Linked DNA regions of Homo sapiens: region 2 is linked to region 1. Evidence: promoter capture Hi-C in 16 types of primary human blood cells and fetal thymus (Javierre and others, 2016). All regions are on one chromosome and are shown on one strand. Each heading gives the region's core, a stretch centred on a gene start or on the middle of the fragment in contact. The rest is flanking DNA. Distances are from core to core; before and after follow the strand shown. Region 1 holds the start of ZNF397 (zinc finger protein 397). Region 2 overlaps KIAA1328.

The links. Contacts are between HindIII fragments. The CHiCAGO score rates a contact against its expected background, and 5 or more counts as called.
Region 2: a fragment that was not itself captured here is called in contact with the fragment with the promoter of ZNF397 in region 1 in 3 of 17 cell types (naive CD8 T cells, activated CD4 T cells and total CD4 T cells); the score reaches 6.8 in naive CD8 T cells.

What each region holds. Positions count from the first base shown.
Region 1 is chr18:35,236,720-35,244,448 of GRCh38, forward strand. ZNF397 (zinc finger protein 397) reads left to right here and starts at 4,315. Exons shown (of 4, transcript NM_001135178.3): 1 at 4,315-4,390; 2 at 5,672-6,165; 3 at 6,433-6,574. The coding sequence starts at 5,752. RefSeq lists enhancers at 3,997-4,106, 4,052-4,577 and a silencer at 4,367-4,496. The HindIII fragment of the contact is 1,449 bases long and covers 3,449-4,897 here.
Region 2 is chr18:36,835,132-36,842,860 of GRCh38, forward strand. KIAA1328 reads left to right here. Exons shown (of 10, transcript NM_020776.3): 3 at 103-245. Among named protein-coding and RNA genes, the nearest start is that of KIAA1328, 9.9 kb to the left of the region's middle. The HindIII fragment of the contact is 5,322 bases long and covers 1-4,574 here.

The DNA.
Region 1 (7,729 bases), core at 3,065-5,564:
TACCCACAAAACTATGAGAACATGTGTTTTTCTTTTTATTACTCATACGCCATGCTTTTAGGCATTGCCTTTTTTTAAAAAAAGTTCTTAGAATGTATCTATGTATCATGGTTGAATTATCCCTAAGACAGAACAGAATCCCAGTGGAAGATCTTTCTGAAGTGGCTGACAGAATTAAGAGTTGGGGTGGGACCCTGTCAAATGATTTATCATTGTGATTAACCTGAAAAAAATAAAACAATAATAACAGCCTACCTGAAGCTTTAACTCTGTTCTATACATGATAAATACAAGAATGAATGTCAGGAGAAACCTCAAAGGCTTTCTTTGACATTAGCAGCAAACAGAAACAACAGTAACAGAAACAACAGTAACTAAGGCCTTTGTTTACTGTTTTGGATACTACAAATAAGCACTGTCATGCTCTGTTAATACATCCTATTATCTGTCTCTAAAAAATACAACTGCTAAATTAGTGACATCATAGAAGAGCCATAGAATACATTGTGAGTAATAAAAAACTCTTTTTGTAAAGGCAATGGCCTCTGTGTCTGTCATCTTACCATAACTGATAAAAACAAATCCTGGGTTCATATTAAAATAGTCTAAGCATATTATTAAAAATGTTCCTACCTGTATACTCCGTTTCTTTGAATGCTTCAAATACTGTCACTAGTTTTTGCATCAATACTTCCTCTTGTATATATGTATTATATATTCATTCATTTATTCATCAAAATATCTACACAATGCTAGGCCATACAGGAGAGACAACAATGGAAGACAAAATCCTTCCCCTCATGGAATTTATACTCTAGGAATTACAGTGATGAGTGAGGTGAAAGGGTATATATTTTACTTCATTTGAATCCCTACTTTTCTTCTCAGTGTTTCACATATACAAATATTTCATAACATTTGCTGAATGAGAAAATGATTTGGCCAGGCGTGGTGTCTCATGTCTGTAATCCTAGTACTTTGGGAGGCTGAGATGGGAGGATCACTTGAGCCCAGGAGTTTAAGACCATCCTGGGCAATATATTGAGACCTCGTCTCTATGAAAAAAAATGTTTTCTATAAAAAATAAAAATAAAAGAAAATGATTCCTTTCCTTTGTGCATCAGAAGCCATTTTCTCTATCCTTTATTATTGAATGGTTGTTTATAGTTAAGAGACTTTCAATGGGCTTATCTCACTTGATAAATATCATAAAGTAGACCAATGTTGTATGATACAGTAATTCAAGCAGTTGGACTTCACTGAATGAGCAACCTTACTCACTAATCACTGGTAATGCCTGGAGCTGACATTATTTCACACCTGTCATACATATCATTAAAAAAACAGAAACAAAAATCAAGAACATCTGAAGGAGGAGAAAAAAATTATACTTCTCTACCCTTGATTCAATAATTTTGCAAATATTTTCACATTAAAGCAGACTGGATATATGTGAAACTGGGGATGGGGGAAGATAGAGGGAATGATTTCAAGGGCATTGATATAACCGATAGCACTGAAAGTTAAATAAGTCATGGAAATTGTTGGCTAAGGTCCTTAAGGGGCTCTAAGGAGGCCCTAAGGCCCTACAGTCCTATGGGGTAATCAGTTGCTCTCTCAGTGGGAACTTAAACTATGTCCCAGAAACTGGCTCTAGATCTCTAATCTACATCTCTTGCAAGTAAGTAATTACTAATATTTTATATTTTAAACATAGGTAACATCTTATAAGGAAGGACAGGAGTCTGGATTTTTTCTCAGTGTCTCACTTTCTTACCTATACAAGGGAATCAGATTACCTATCAAAGCAGATATTACTGTTGCAAATTCAACATTCATCTATTTATCTCCCTTTTCTGCCTTTTTAACACAGCCCTAATTTCATGCATTCTCCCCAGAGTGTCTGTGTCCTTTAGGAGAGGCTGGCCTTCTCCTTAGCCCTGGGATATAAATTTCAATTGTCCTAATCCCACCATGGAGGCCTTACCTCCCTTGTTAGTGATAGACATAAGCACTCAAAGCAATTTCAGTTAATAAGACATGATGGAGAAATCTATCAGGGAAAAAGAGTTTCCTTAATCGTATAAAGGGGCAAAAGATAAAGGTGTTCCCCTTTTTGGTCTCTGAACATTATCTGTAATCTGGAACTGAGGAAATCATTTTAGGACCATAAAGGAAGCCAGACTGGAGAACAACACACTTAAAGATGGCAGAGCCAAAAGAAGGAAGAAACCTGTGTCCTTGACAATATTGTCCAGATGCAGAAGTAACCAACCCTGGGAATGATTTTATCTCCATGCATCTAGCTATTAGGATTTGTTTTTAAAAGGCTTGAACAATAAGGACATTTAGTAAGGTTCCTGTTACTGCAGCCAAAAGCATTTCAACTGATATGCCTTCTCTCTTTCAATAGTTTCACTCTTACATAGTAGGTTTCTCAATATAACAAGGTGTGTTAGGTTGGATGCAAAGATAACTGCCAAAATTTCCTCCTATGATCAAGCTGCTTAATGTCTATTTCCCTTTTCCACCATTCTAGTCCTTCTGTCATGGAATACTGCAGAAAAATATAATGCCAGTTCCAGACTCAGGCTTTAAGAGAATTAGCATCTTTCCTCCTCCTTAACTCTCTTGGAAGCCAGTCACCATGTAAGAAAGCTTAGGCTAAACTCCTGAATGGAGAGAGGCCTTGTGGAGAAGAATCAAGTAACTTCAACCAAGAGGCAACACCAAGACTTCAGCAATTTGAGTGAAGCCATCTTGGACCTTCCACCCCAGTTAAGTGAAGATAGCTGACACATCATAAAGCAGACTAGCCATCTCCGCTAAGCCCTTCCTGAATTCCTGGCAACAGAACTGTGAGCAATAAAACATCTGCTGTTTTTAGTCACTAAGTCTTGAAGTGGTTCATTATGAAGCAATTGATAATTTATAAACAAATTAATATTATTTGGTTTTTTGCTTTGTAAAATTGCTGTAGTCATTTCACAATGATAAAATTATTTAGTGAGTCACTAATAGCTTTGAATGCTAACGAACATTTTTCTCAAATATGTGTTTTAAGTCTTGGCTCACAAAGGAGAATTTGTTTCTATGTATGTATGTATCGCTTTGTTATTATCCTGTGTACTTTTTTAATATAACATTTTAAAAATATGTAACATTTAAACATGTAAAATGTAACGTTTTAAAAATAAATACAAATAAATGGGAAACGATTTGCAACAAACGAGTTGCTATCCTTAATAAGCAAAAAATTCTCACAAATAAAAAAGAAAAATCTTACTCCCTTAATTTTTTAAATGGGAAAAGCCATCTCTGAAGAACCATAAATGGTCAGTAAACATGAAGGGGGACTATCTTAAGCTCACAAAGTTGAAACATGAGGCATCATTTTTCACCGACTAAATAGCCAAAGAAAAATTTAAACAGTGAGACAATACCAGCAAGCTTCCACTGAAGAACGGGAAGACCCTAAGATAGGCTCCAGGAGTCTACGATACCAGTCTCCTTGAACTATGGGGACGTGGACGTCCCTGGTCACAAGTTGCCTGACTTTGGGCGATGTCTACGGCTGTAAATTTGGGATTATATAGCCACAGCACAGAACTGTTGTAAGGCTCCAGTGATACTCATAGGCAAAAGCAATATAAGTGACTGTTAGTTTTTGTTCAGCCTATTCATCCTTACATTTACTTTTGTCGGAAAAGAACTGGAATCACAGGAAAATCTGAGGTTTTTTTTTTTTTTTTTTTTTTGAGACAGAGTCTCGCTCTGTCGCCCAGGCTGGAGTGCAGCACATCTCAGTTCACTGCAAGCTCCGCCTCCCGGGTTCACGCCATTCTCCTGCCTCAGCCTCCCGAGTAGCTGGAACTACAGGCGCCCGCCAACATGCCCAGCTAAATTTTTGTATTTTTAGTAGAGACGGGGTTTCACCGTGTTAGCCAGGATGGTCTCTATCTCCTGACCTCGTGATCCGCCCGCCTCGGCCACCGCGCCCGGCCGAAAATCTGAATATTTTAATGGAAAACTGGGAGTGAGATTCGGGAATTACTTGAGACCAACAATGATGGGTGGTGCCAGGAGAAAGCCAGGGTGGGAACGGCCCAGGCGAGATGCGGGACCCTCCAGGTGCCGCCGCTCACAAGGACCCCTGACTCCTAGCGCACCCTCCCCTGGCCTTGGAGATTCCGCCGGGCTAGCGGCTACCGGGAGAAGGCGGTGGAAACTGTAGAGCCCGCGGCTCTGATTGGCTACCTCAGAGCAAGGGGCGGGGCGGCGGAGGACCCGAAGGGCGCGAGAGCGGAACACTGCGTACGCGCACTTCCGGTCTTTGTGGCTTGCAGCTCGGGGTGGGTGGCTCATTTCCTGGCCGCTCCTGGGCTTCGCGGTGAGGGACGTGGGCCCCTAGGAAGAGGGAGGTGGGGTTGGGAGCGCGCGCCGGACAGTGGAGGAGCTCCGCTCCTCGGCCTGCCCATCCCCAGGTCGCGGCCCTTTGGCCCGCGCGGCGTCTCCAAGCGACTGGGGAACTCAGAGGAGGCCAGCACTCAAACTCCTGCTTTCCAAAGGAAAACGCAGTTCCGCTGACCCCGTGACTTCGTAAATGCTGCGGTTTAACCAAGGATATAAAAATAGAAGGGCTAGTTAGTTAGTTAGTTAGTGCGGCCGGACTGGTTAAACCTTAAATTTGTAGGCTAAATATTTTAATTCATCTCTTAACGTTAACCGTAGTGTGAGGAATGAATTTTACTCATCTGTCCTGACAAACTAAGGGCATACATTCCTATCGATATCTCGCCATCCTAAAAGCAGGTCAAGTTTGGTCTGTGTCACAACATTTAATACCTATTTGTTACCATATTTTGCTTTTGAACATTTTTAGTCTTGGGATATTCTAAGCTTTTTCAGAACTGATACGGATCTCTTTGCTGCTTTTGTGTATGTGATACCTATCATGTTTTTGAACACATGGTAAGCATTTTACAGATACGTCTTGGTTCTTGGTCAATTCCTCTGTAGACTCGTTTATTCATAAGCAAAAATCTTAATGCTCAGTAAGTGCCTCAGTGTTTGTTGAAGTAATTCGGTAAACACCAAATGCGATCAAATGACAAATATCCAATATTTACATCAACTCATGTTTAATGTGAACTTTTAAAAAAACGTTATTACTGCCTTAAATGAAAATCAACATTACTTGCTTTAGATAGAAAGTAAGTAAAAATAAATGTTTAAAATCAGTATTACTAAATTCTGCCTAAATATTTTTACTCTTGGAAGTCTGATTCTGAAGCCTGTATTTTATTTAAAAGAGAGTTCTACAAGTTTTATTAATACATACATGTTAAAGATAGACTTTTCTCCTTGATACAATCAGAATTGAAAGAATTGGAAAGGAAATTTTCTCACTATGTGATTGATGTTAATGTTGCATTCACATTCTTAGGCTTCTAAAATAGTTTTTTCTAACATTAGTGGTAGGAATTCTTCATAATGGGAGACACTAATTGAGGTTAATGATTTTTAGTTTATCATCACATTATTGTTTTATTTAGTGATAGCCCCAAATCTACTCCCTTTCAATATATTACTAAAGTTACTCATCTTTCTTATTACAAGTACTTAGAGATTTTATTGATTGCTGTAAGTTAACTGCTTTTATATCCTTCAGGAAAGAAGAGATTACTCACACTCCTTCGCAAGCACAGAACCAGTTGTACTGAGCTTTTTGCTAAGCTGTTTCAGCCAAGAATGGCTGTGGAATCTGGAGTGATTTCAACCCTGATACCTCAGGATCCTCCGGAACAAGAACTAATACTAGTGAAAGTAGAAGATAACTTTTCCTGGGATGAGAAATTTAAGCAGAATGGGAGTACTCAATCCTGCCAAGAATTGTTTCGTCAGCAATTCAGAAAATTTTGCTACCAGGAGACACCTGGGCCCCGGGAGGCTCTGAGCCGACTCCAGGAACTTTGCTATCAGTGGCTAATGCCAGAGTTGCACACAAAGGAGCAGATCTTAGAACTGCTGGTACTGGAGCAGTTCCTGAGCATTCTGCCTGAGGAGCTGCAGATCTGGGTTCAGCAACATAATCCAGAAAGCGGCGAGGAAGCTGTGACCCTGTTGGAGGATTTAGAGAGGGAGTTTGATGACCCAGGGCAGCAGGTGGGAACGGAGAAAAGTGATGTGGGAAAAGGAATTTACAGCCTGGAGCATGTAATGGTATCATAACAGTAGGATAAAAATTTTTATGTCTCTACTGAACCCTAACCTGAAGTGACTAATAGAGCCATACTTGTCTATACCCTTGAATGGTCTTTTTCCCCTGTCCTTCATCCCTGGAGATGTCATCATTGACCTCTTTGAGATTTTTACTAAGCAAGTTTTCTTAGGGATTTTCTCACAAAGCTAACCATATTTTACTGATTTCAGGTCCCAGCTAGTCCACAGGGACCAGCAGTGCCATGGAAGGATTTAACATGTCTCAGAGCATCCCAAGAGTCAACAGACATCCACCTCCAGCCCTTAAAGACACAGCTGAAATCCTGGAAACCATGCCTTTCCCCTAAAAGTGGTGAGGAATGGGAAATCATCTGGAAACTCTTGACACTTAGGCCTCTGTTTTTGAGAATGCAGAATTAATTGCACTTGACAAACTTGCCACATGTGAGCATCACCTTTATTATTCTAAACCAGAGGTGCTCGCTTTAGCGGCTTTGTATTCACCCCTCATGAATTGCTGTCAGCCCTCCTGTGTGAGTTTCCCTGTTATTCATTCATTCATTTCATTATGTTGTAACTTTATAAAGCGTCAATACATGTCTGGTACTGTGGTAGGCCCCAGGAGAGGTTTCAGGTCTAGGTGGGTGATGGACAAATAAAAAGGCAGTTGCAATGTAGTAAATTATAGAATATAAGTAGGCAGTGGGTACTGTTGGAGCACATCTAAAGGCACCTAACCCAATCTTAGAGGATCAAGGAACACTTCCTGAAGGAAGAAAATCTAAGCTAAGACTTGAACTATGAGTAAGAGAAAGCCAGGTAAATAGGTGGGAGGAGGAGTAGCCCAAGTAAAGGCCATACCATCCCGAAGGTGTGAGAATATAACCCATTCTGAAAATTGCAGGTAGTTTAATTTGACTTGAATGGAGAATTGACAGGTGGTAAGAGAAGAACCAGAGAGGAAAATAGGATCCAAGTCATGAAGACCTGTATGTCATGTTAATTTGTTTGTATAGTTTCTTAAGTGCAGTGGGATGCAGTTGAAGGATTTTGGACAAGGAGTGACATAGTTTGATTTGCAGTTTAGAAGTTAGCTGCAAATGGAGAATCATGTAAGGAAGGCAAGAGTATAGTCCTATTAAAGACTGCTGTAATCCAAGTGGCCACAGTGTATTCAATCAATATGTGTTATGGTAAGCGGTGGAGAACATAAAAGCTGACTCCTGTTCAACAGCATTTAAGTTGTTTTGCAACATCTGGTAATTATTAAAACTAGAGTGTGAGGGAGAGGAGTTGAGGATGATACTGAGGTTTCAGTCTTCAACAGTCTGGTTAATGGTAGTACTGTTCATGTGAATGAGAAAACATAAGGAAAAACAGATACATCTGATGATGTGTTTAGGTTGGTACATTTGGTGCTTGTGAAATATTCAAAAGTAAAATGCCCAATTAGCATAAGACTCTAGAGCTTAATAAAATATGGATATAATTGGGGATCTGGGCAGAC
Region 2 (7,729 bases), core at 664-3,163, 1.6 Mb after region 1:
ATCAGGTCCCTTAAAGTAGAGGATTCCAAGGAAGGAGTTGATGGGGGAGGGTTTAAGATAATAAGGTATAATTTTGAAATCTTGTTTAATGGAAATCCTTAGGAATTTCTGCTGAAGGAAATGTCAGATCAAGACACAAGCTGATGAGTCCAAAAGCTGATGTTAAACTTAAGACTTCCAGGGTGACTGATGCTTCAATCTCCATGGAGTCCTTAAAAGGCACAGGAGATTCAGTAGATGAACAGGTTAGTATTTTTTTCGTCTTTTTTTTTCCTTGCTCTCCAGTCTTTATGAGTGCTGACCAAAAAGGGTAGAAGAACCTTTGAAAGTATACTAGGTGATCAACAAACATTCTTAAAAGATACAGAGGATTCCAGGATCCTTTGATGATGCCAGGTTTGAGCCTAAATTATCTGGATTACTCAAGGGTTTTGCTCCAAAACATCTGACTTGCTGTAAGCATTAGCCATGATAATGTATTATCTTGATATGTCTCAAAAGAACTACATTCTGATCTGTGTGGCATTGGTAAATCAAACTGATGAGAATTGCTTTTTAATTAGGCATCCTTTTTGATTTTTATTCTTGTGAATTTATTTGATAGATGAACCCTCGTAAAGATGAGGGACAAATCAATGACTAGGCATAGTAATAGTATCGGTGCATTCCTTTGGCACATGTCCTATCTGACCAGTTTATTTTACTTTAATTTTTGTTATATTTTCCCTCTGCAACCAGAGTTGTTCAATACCACTTCACACTCACTAGGATGTCTACACAAAACTTGTATATGAATGTTCTGGAATCTATAACCTGTGGACCAAATCCTTCTGCCTGTTTTATAAATAAAGGTTTTTTGGAATACAGCTGTGCTCATTGTTTTACATAATTGTCTATGGTTGCTTTTGTGTTACAATAGCAGGGTTGCTACAGAGACTGCATGCCCACAAGCTAAAAACATTTACTATCAGACCTTTTATAGAAAACTTTTTTCAGTCTGTGAATTATGTTCTCAAAGATATTTCCAGTGCCTCATTTATTACTACAGGATTTTACTGTGATTGAATCAAAAGGCCTACTTTACGTTACTTGTACCAGTGTACCCACTTCACACTGGGGTGTGAATAGTTGAATTTGCAAGTTCTTATCAAAAAAAGTTAAAAAATGTTTTTTCACATAATGGTTGATTTGTTTTACATTGAACAATAGCCTTCTTTTAGATTAAGTTCATATTTTTGTCCTATTGGCTATAACTTTTGATTGGATTATTTCAGTGGCTTCTTTAGAGATTATAGTATACATCTTTCATTTATCATAGCCTATTATCAAGTGATATTTTCCCACATTACCTATAGTTTAAGGACCTTTCAACACTGTACTTTATTTCTCACCTCCTGACTTTTTTGATATTGTTGTCATACATTTTACTTATGTGCACAGACCCCAAAATACATATTACATTTGCTTTAGTCAACTCTCTTTTTTTTCAAATTGAGATATAATTTGCATATAAAATTCACCTTTTTAAAGTGTACAGTTTATTATTTTGATTTTGTATGTGTTTATATTCACAGAGTTGTGGATCCATCACCACAATCTAGTTTCGAAACATTTTTATCACTCTAGAAAGAAACCCCATACCAATTAGGCACTTCTCATTCCCCAGTCATCTCAGCCCCTAGCAAACACTAATCTGCTTTCAGTCTCTATAGATTTGCTTGTTATTGATGTTGCATATAAAAGGAAATCACATAATATGTGGCCTTTTGTGACTGGCTTCTTTGATTTAGCATAATGATTTCAAGGTTCATCTATTCTGTATCATTACTTCATTCCTTTTTATGTCTGAATATACATTTTGTTTATCCATTTATCAGTCAATGGACATGTTCAACTTTCTAGCTATTATGAATAATTCTTCCATGATCATTCATATACAAGTTTTTGTGTAGACATATATTTTCAGTTCTCTTGTGTATATACCTATAAGTGAATTGCTGTGTCGTGTAGTTTTATGTTTAACCTTTTGACAAAATTCCAAACTGTTTTTTAAAGTGGTTACACCATGTTACATTCGACTAGCAATGTATGAGGATTCAGATTTCTCCACATTCTTGCCAACATTTATGTCCATCTTTTTTGAGGATGGCCACCCTAGTGGGTGTGAAGTGGTAATTCAATGTGATTTTGATTTGCATTTCCTTAATGACTAAATGATGATGAGCATGTTTTTATGTGCTTCTTGGCTATTTGTGTATCTTCGTCAGACAAATATCTAGTCATATCCTTTTTTAACTGAGTTATTTGTCTTAGTACTGTTAAGTTATGAGTTCTTTCTAAATTCCATTTACAAGTCCCTTATCAGATACATTATTTGCTAATATTTTTTCTCATTCTATGCATTGCCTTTTCACTTTTTTATTGGTGTTCTTTGAAGCACAGAAGTTTAAAATTTTGATGAAGTTCAGTTTATCTAGTGTTTTCTTCTGTCTCCTTTGCTTTGGTGTCATATCTGAGAAATTGTTGCCTAATCCAAGGTCACAAATATTTGTGCCTATTTTTTTTCTAAGAATTTTAAAGGTTTTACTCCTACATTTAGTTCTCATTCCATTTTGAGTTAATTTTTGTATATGGGGTGAGGTGGTAGTTTAACTTTATTCCTTTGCATGTAGATATCCAGTTGTCCCAGCACCATTTGTTAAAAAAACTGTCCTTTCCCCTTTGAATTTCTTGGCACCCTTGTCAAATATCTGTTGACCATAAGTGTAAGGGTTTATTTTTGGACTCTCTGTATTCTGTTCCATTGATTTATATTTTTATTTTTGGAATTAGGAAGTATAAGTCCTCCAACTTCTTCTTTTTCAAGATTGTTTTGGCTATTTTGGGTCCCAGTGTTTCCATAGGCATTATAGAATCAGCAAATGTTTTATACTTTTTGATGTTATTAGAAACACAGTTGTTTCTGAATTTCACTGTTGGATTGTTTATTGCTAGTATATAGAAATTCAGTTGATTTGTGAATTGATCTTGTATCCTGCAACTTTATCAAACTATTTCTAATCTAATAGTTCTTTTGTGAATTCCTTACCATTTTCTCTATATAAGATGAAGTTGTCTGTGAATAGAGATAGTTCACATATTCTTATTGGATGCCTTTATTCCATTTTGGATGCATTTTATTTTAATTGCCTTTTAAAGAAATTTTACAAATGCAACAGAAGTCTTTTAAATCTACTCATGTAGTTACCATTTCTGGTGTTTTCATTCTTTCACGTGTATCCAGATTTCCTAAAAGACTTCCTTTAACATTAGTTCAGGTATGCTAGGAAAGAATTTTTTCAGCTCACGTATGTCTGAAAAGTCTTTATTTCTCTTTCCTTTTCAAAAGATATTTTTGCTGGTTATAAAATTCTGAGTTGATAGTTTTATTCATTCAGTGCTTTAAAGATGTTGCTGCACTGTTGCCTGGCTTGTATTGTTTTTAAGAAGTTGGCTGTCATTTTTATTCCTCCTTATTTTTCTGTGTGTATGTGTTTAAATATGGCTGCTTTTAAGATTTTCTTCTTATCACTGGTTTTGAGCAATTTGGTTATAGTATACCCTGGAGTAATTTTTTTTTTTGAGGTGCAGAGTTGCTGTGTCGCCCAGGCTAGAGTGCAGTGGCACGATCTTGGTTTACTGCAACCTCCGCTTCCCAGGTTCAAGTGATTCTCCTACCTCAGCCTCCTGAGTAGCTGGGATTACGGGCGTGCACCGCCACACCCGGCTAATTTTTGTATTTTTAGTAGAGATGGGGTTTCACCATGTTGGTCAGGCTGGTCTCGAACTCCTGACCTCATTATCTGCCCGCCTCGGCCTCCCAAAGTGCTGGGATTACAGGTGTGAGCCACCATGCCCATCCTACCTTGGAGTAATTTTTAAAGTATCTCTTTTGTTTGAGGTTTGTTGAGCTTTTTGGGACTGTGGGTTTATAGTTTTCATCAAATTGGGAAATGTTTCAGCCATTGTTTCTCCAGATATTTTTGTTTCCCTCTCTTTCTAGTGACCTTAGTTGCACAAATACTAGGCCTCTTGAAGTTACCCTCTCAGCTCTCTGATCCTCTGTTCATATTTTTTTCATTAAAAAATTTTTTTGTTTATCCTTGGATAGTTTGTATTGCTGTTGCTATGTCTTCAAATTCATTAACCTTCTGCAATGTCTAATCTGCCACTAATCTCATCCAGTGTGTTTTTCATATGAAACAATGTAGTTTTATCTTTAGAAGTTCAGTTTCAGTCTCTTATTTTTGTTTACATCTTCCATGTCGCTACTTGACATGCTTTCTTCTAGGTTCTTGAACATATGGAACATAGTTATAATAACTGTTTCAATATTCTTGACTATGAATTCTATCATCCAAGTCATTTGTGGATAGGTTTCAATTGAGCAATTTTTCTCCTAATTATAGGCTGTATTTTTCTGCTTCTTTGCCTGCTTGGTTGTCTTTTATTGGATGTCACAAGACAGTATGCATTTTGCCTTTTTGGGTTCTGAGACAGTGATAAATTATTTGGAAGCAATTTGATTCTTTCCAAGCTTCATTTTGAGCTTTTAAAGGTGGTGCCAGAGCAGCTTTTAGTATAGGGGTAATTTTGCCCATTGTAGGCCATACTCTTTTGAATACTCTTCCTGATGCCCCTTAAATTACAAGGTTTTCCCCTCTGGCTGGTGGGAACAGACTGTTCTCCTATGCTGTATTAGCTACAGAAATTGTTTCCACTGTTCATTTTGGGCTCTTTCCCCGGGATGAGTAGTTTTCTCACATACATATGCTGGTCAGTGCTCAGTAGTTGACGCGAAGGGATTCTGCAGATCCCTGGAGCTCTCCTATGCAGCTCTATCCTTGGCATTACTTTGCCCTGCAAGGTTTCTAGTGTTTCTGCAAACACTAGAAACCTTGGCTTTCCTGGACTCCCAGCTGTATCTTTTCAACTCAGGGAGATTGCTGGGCTCTGTCTGGATTTACCTACCTTAGCCCTGAAAACTCTCCACAGCAGTTAGCTGGGACAGTTGTAGGGCTCGCCTTGTTTGTTTCTGCAATTCCAGTGATCATTCTGTGTTGCCTGCTATCCAATGAAAACTATTGTTTCCTGTTTTTTTGTCAGGTTTTTGTTTTGTTTTGTTTTCTGAAACTAGGGTAAATCTGGTCCCTGTTACTCCATCTGGGCTAGAAGAGGATGTCCTACATTGTCGGGGGTATATGTGTCTATGTGTGCTTTTTCTTAAAACTAGAAATGGTGGTTTGCTTTTTCTTTTCCTTTTTTCCATTGAAGAGCATGTCTTGTGATTTTTTTTTTTTTTTTTGACAGAGTCTGGCTCTGTAGCCCAGGTACAGTGGCATGGTCTCGGCTCACTGCAACCTCTGCCTCCTGGGTTCTGGTTCAAGAAATTCTCATGCCTCAGCCTCTCAACTAGCTGGGATTACAGGAACGCACTACCATGCCCAGATGATTTTTGTATAAACAGAGATGGGGTTTCACTATGTTGACCAGGCTGGTCTTGAACTCCTGACCTCGTGATCCACCCACCTCGGCCTCCGAAAGTGCTGGGATTATAGGCATGAGCCACTGTGCCCAGCCATCTTGTGATTTTTTTCTCTGTGTAGTCTTTGTTGGTATTGATGTTGAGTATCCTTAATTCATTAAGGATTTCACAGTGGTAATTAGGTCAGTTCAAGTCTTCTGGGAAGCAGACCGCGAGATGGAATTAGAAATGGAAGAGATTTAATGAAGGAAAAGCTTATAAAGCATAAAGAGTAGAATGAGCAGGAATCTTCAGATTTCACTACAGTCTGGCACCTGTGACAGGAGAGGAAAAGAAGGAAGATTGACTAGGAAGAACCTCAGACTTCAGATTGCCATGCAATCTGAGATAAGTGTCCTTTTTGCTAGTGAGGAACCCCAGAGCAAATACTGCCTTTTGAGGATGCCATTTGGATCAGAAATAGCTCAGTTCTAGTGTCTCTACTGTTCCCAGTCATTGGTGTTGGTATGAACAGTGCAGTGGATCCCAAAGGTTTGGCAACTGGAGGCTGTTAGCTGATTATACTCTGCAGCAAGTTCCCTCTCTCTTTTGTGGCCATATTGCTTTATTTTTTACAGTTAAGCCTACTATTCATCAGGAAGTAATATGCACATGTAGTGTAAAGTAAGATTCACTGCAATTCAGAGAGAAAAGAATCCTCTTCCCAATAGATGGTGTTGGGCCCATAGACTGCCAGTATTGGGTCAATAGACTGTCAGTATTGGCCCAACACCATCTACTGGGAAGAGGATTCTTTTCTTCTTTGAATTGCAATGATACCATTGTTGTAAGTCAAGTGACTGTAGATATGTGGCCTTTCCTCATCATGTTTTCTTCTTTGGTAATTCGTATCCTGAACTTTATAATTCTTTTGTTTTTCCATATCGGGGTTCGCCGACTTTTTCTATAAATTGGACAGGTAGTAAATACTTTAACTTTTGCAGGCTGTAACATCTGTCTCAACAACTCAACTCTGCCACAGTAGCATTAAAAGAGCCATAAGCAATATGCAAATGAATGAGCACGTTTTAATAAACCTTTGTTTACAAAAACAGCCAGTGGGCCAGATTCGGCTTGCAGCCATGGTTTACCAAGCCCTGTCCTACAGTGTAAATACATTTTTTTTGAAACAGTATTTCATATATATTTGGAACTTTATATAAATGAGCTCATATCCATTTGTATTGTGTGATTTGCTTTTTATTTCATATTATGTTTATGAGATTTCTTGTTTTTTTTTCCCTCTATGGCTCTTCCAATGTTACGTGAGATTTCTTTATGTTGTATGTAGTTATATTTCATTTCTTTTCACCGTCTCGGGGTTTAGTCAGTTATTTTAACTTAGAATATTTAAAAGAAAAATTATTGAATAGTGCGAGAACCAAAAAGGCAAAAAGGGAACATTAAAGTATCATGAAAGTAGTAACTATAAGAAACAACCACAATCTCTAGAACTGGATGAGAGGGCAGAATAAGTCGGAATTATTGAAACTTAGAAGCTTAGAGGAGGGGCCCCTTAAAGCTGCAACTTGGACCTCTGGTGATGGGACACCAACCCGGCTGGTACTGCCATTTCTGAGGAGGCCTGATAAAGGCTGGTTCTGTAAGGGCTGGAAAAAATTGCAAACTGGAATCAGCAGTACTTGCCAGGGTAAGGAACTCAGGGGTGACACTGTCAGTAACAGGAAGGAAGTAGCCTTCCTTCTTTCTTCCTGGTCTTCATCTAGTTCTTTGTGTTGGCAGAGTTCAACAGAGTGCCAGGTGGCGAAGGAGAAATGGTGTTTCCAGAGTCTTAGACTTAGCATCTCAAAGCAGAGGGTGGAAGGGTAGTTTTGAGGGGGAAAGTTAGTATCATAGCTACCAGTACCTCTAGAATTTCATTGTATCAATATGCCAGCCACAGTTTTACTATTCTGTAGTTAATAGACATTTGCCTTTTCAGATTTTTGCTGTTGTTAACACAATGCCACTAATTATTTATTTTTTTTTTTTTGCCTAGTTACAAAGATTTCTCTTTTGTTCTTTTACTCAGCACATCACTAATGAAATGTCTTTTCATGGGTTATCAGCAACTTCCTCCATTGCCAAATCCATTGCCTTCTTCCCCCAGTCTATTTGTCTTTTTTAATCATTAGCACTGTTGAACCCACACTATTCTTGAAACTT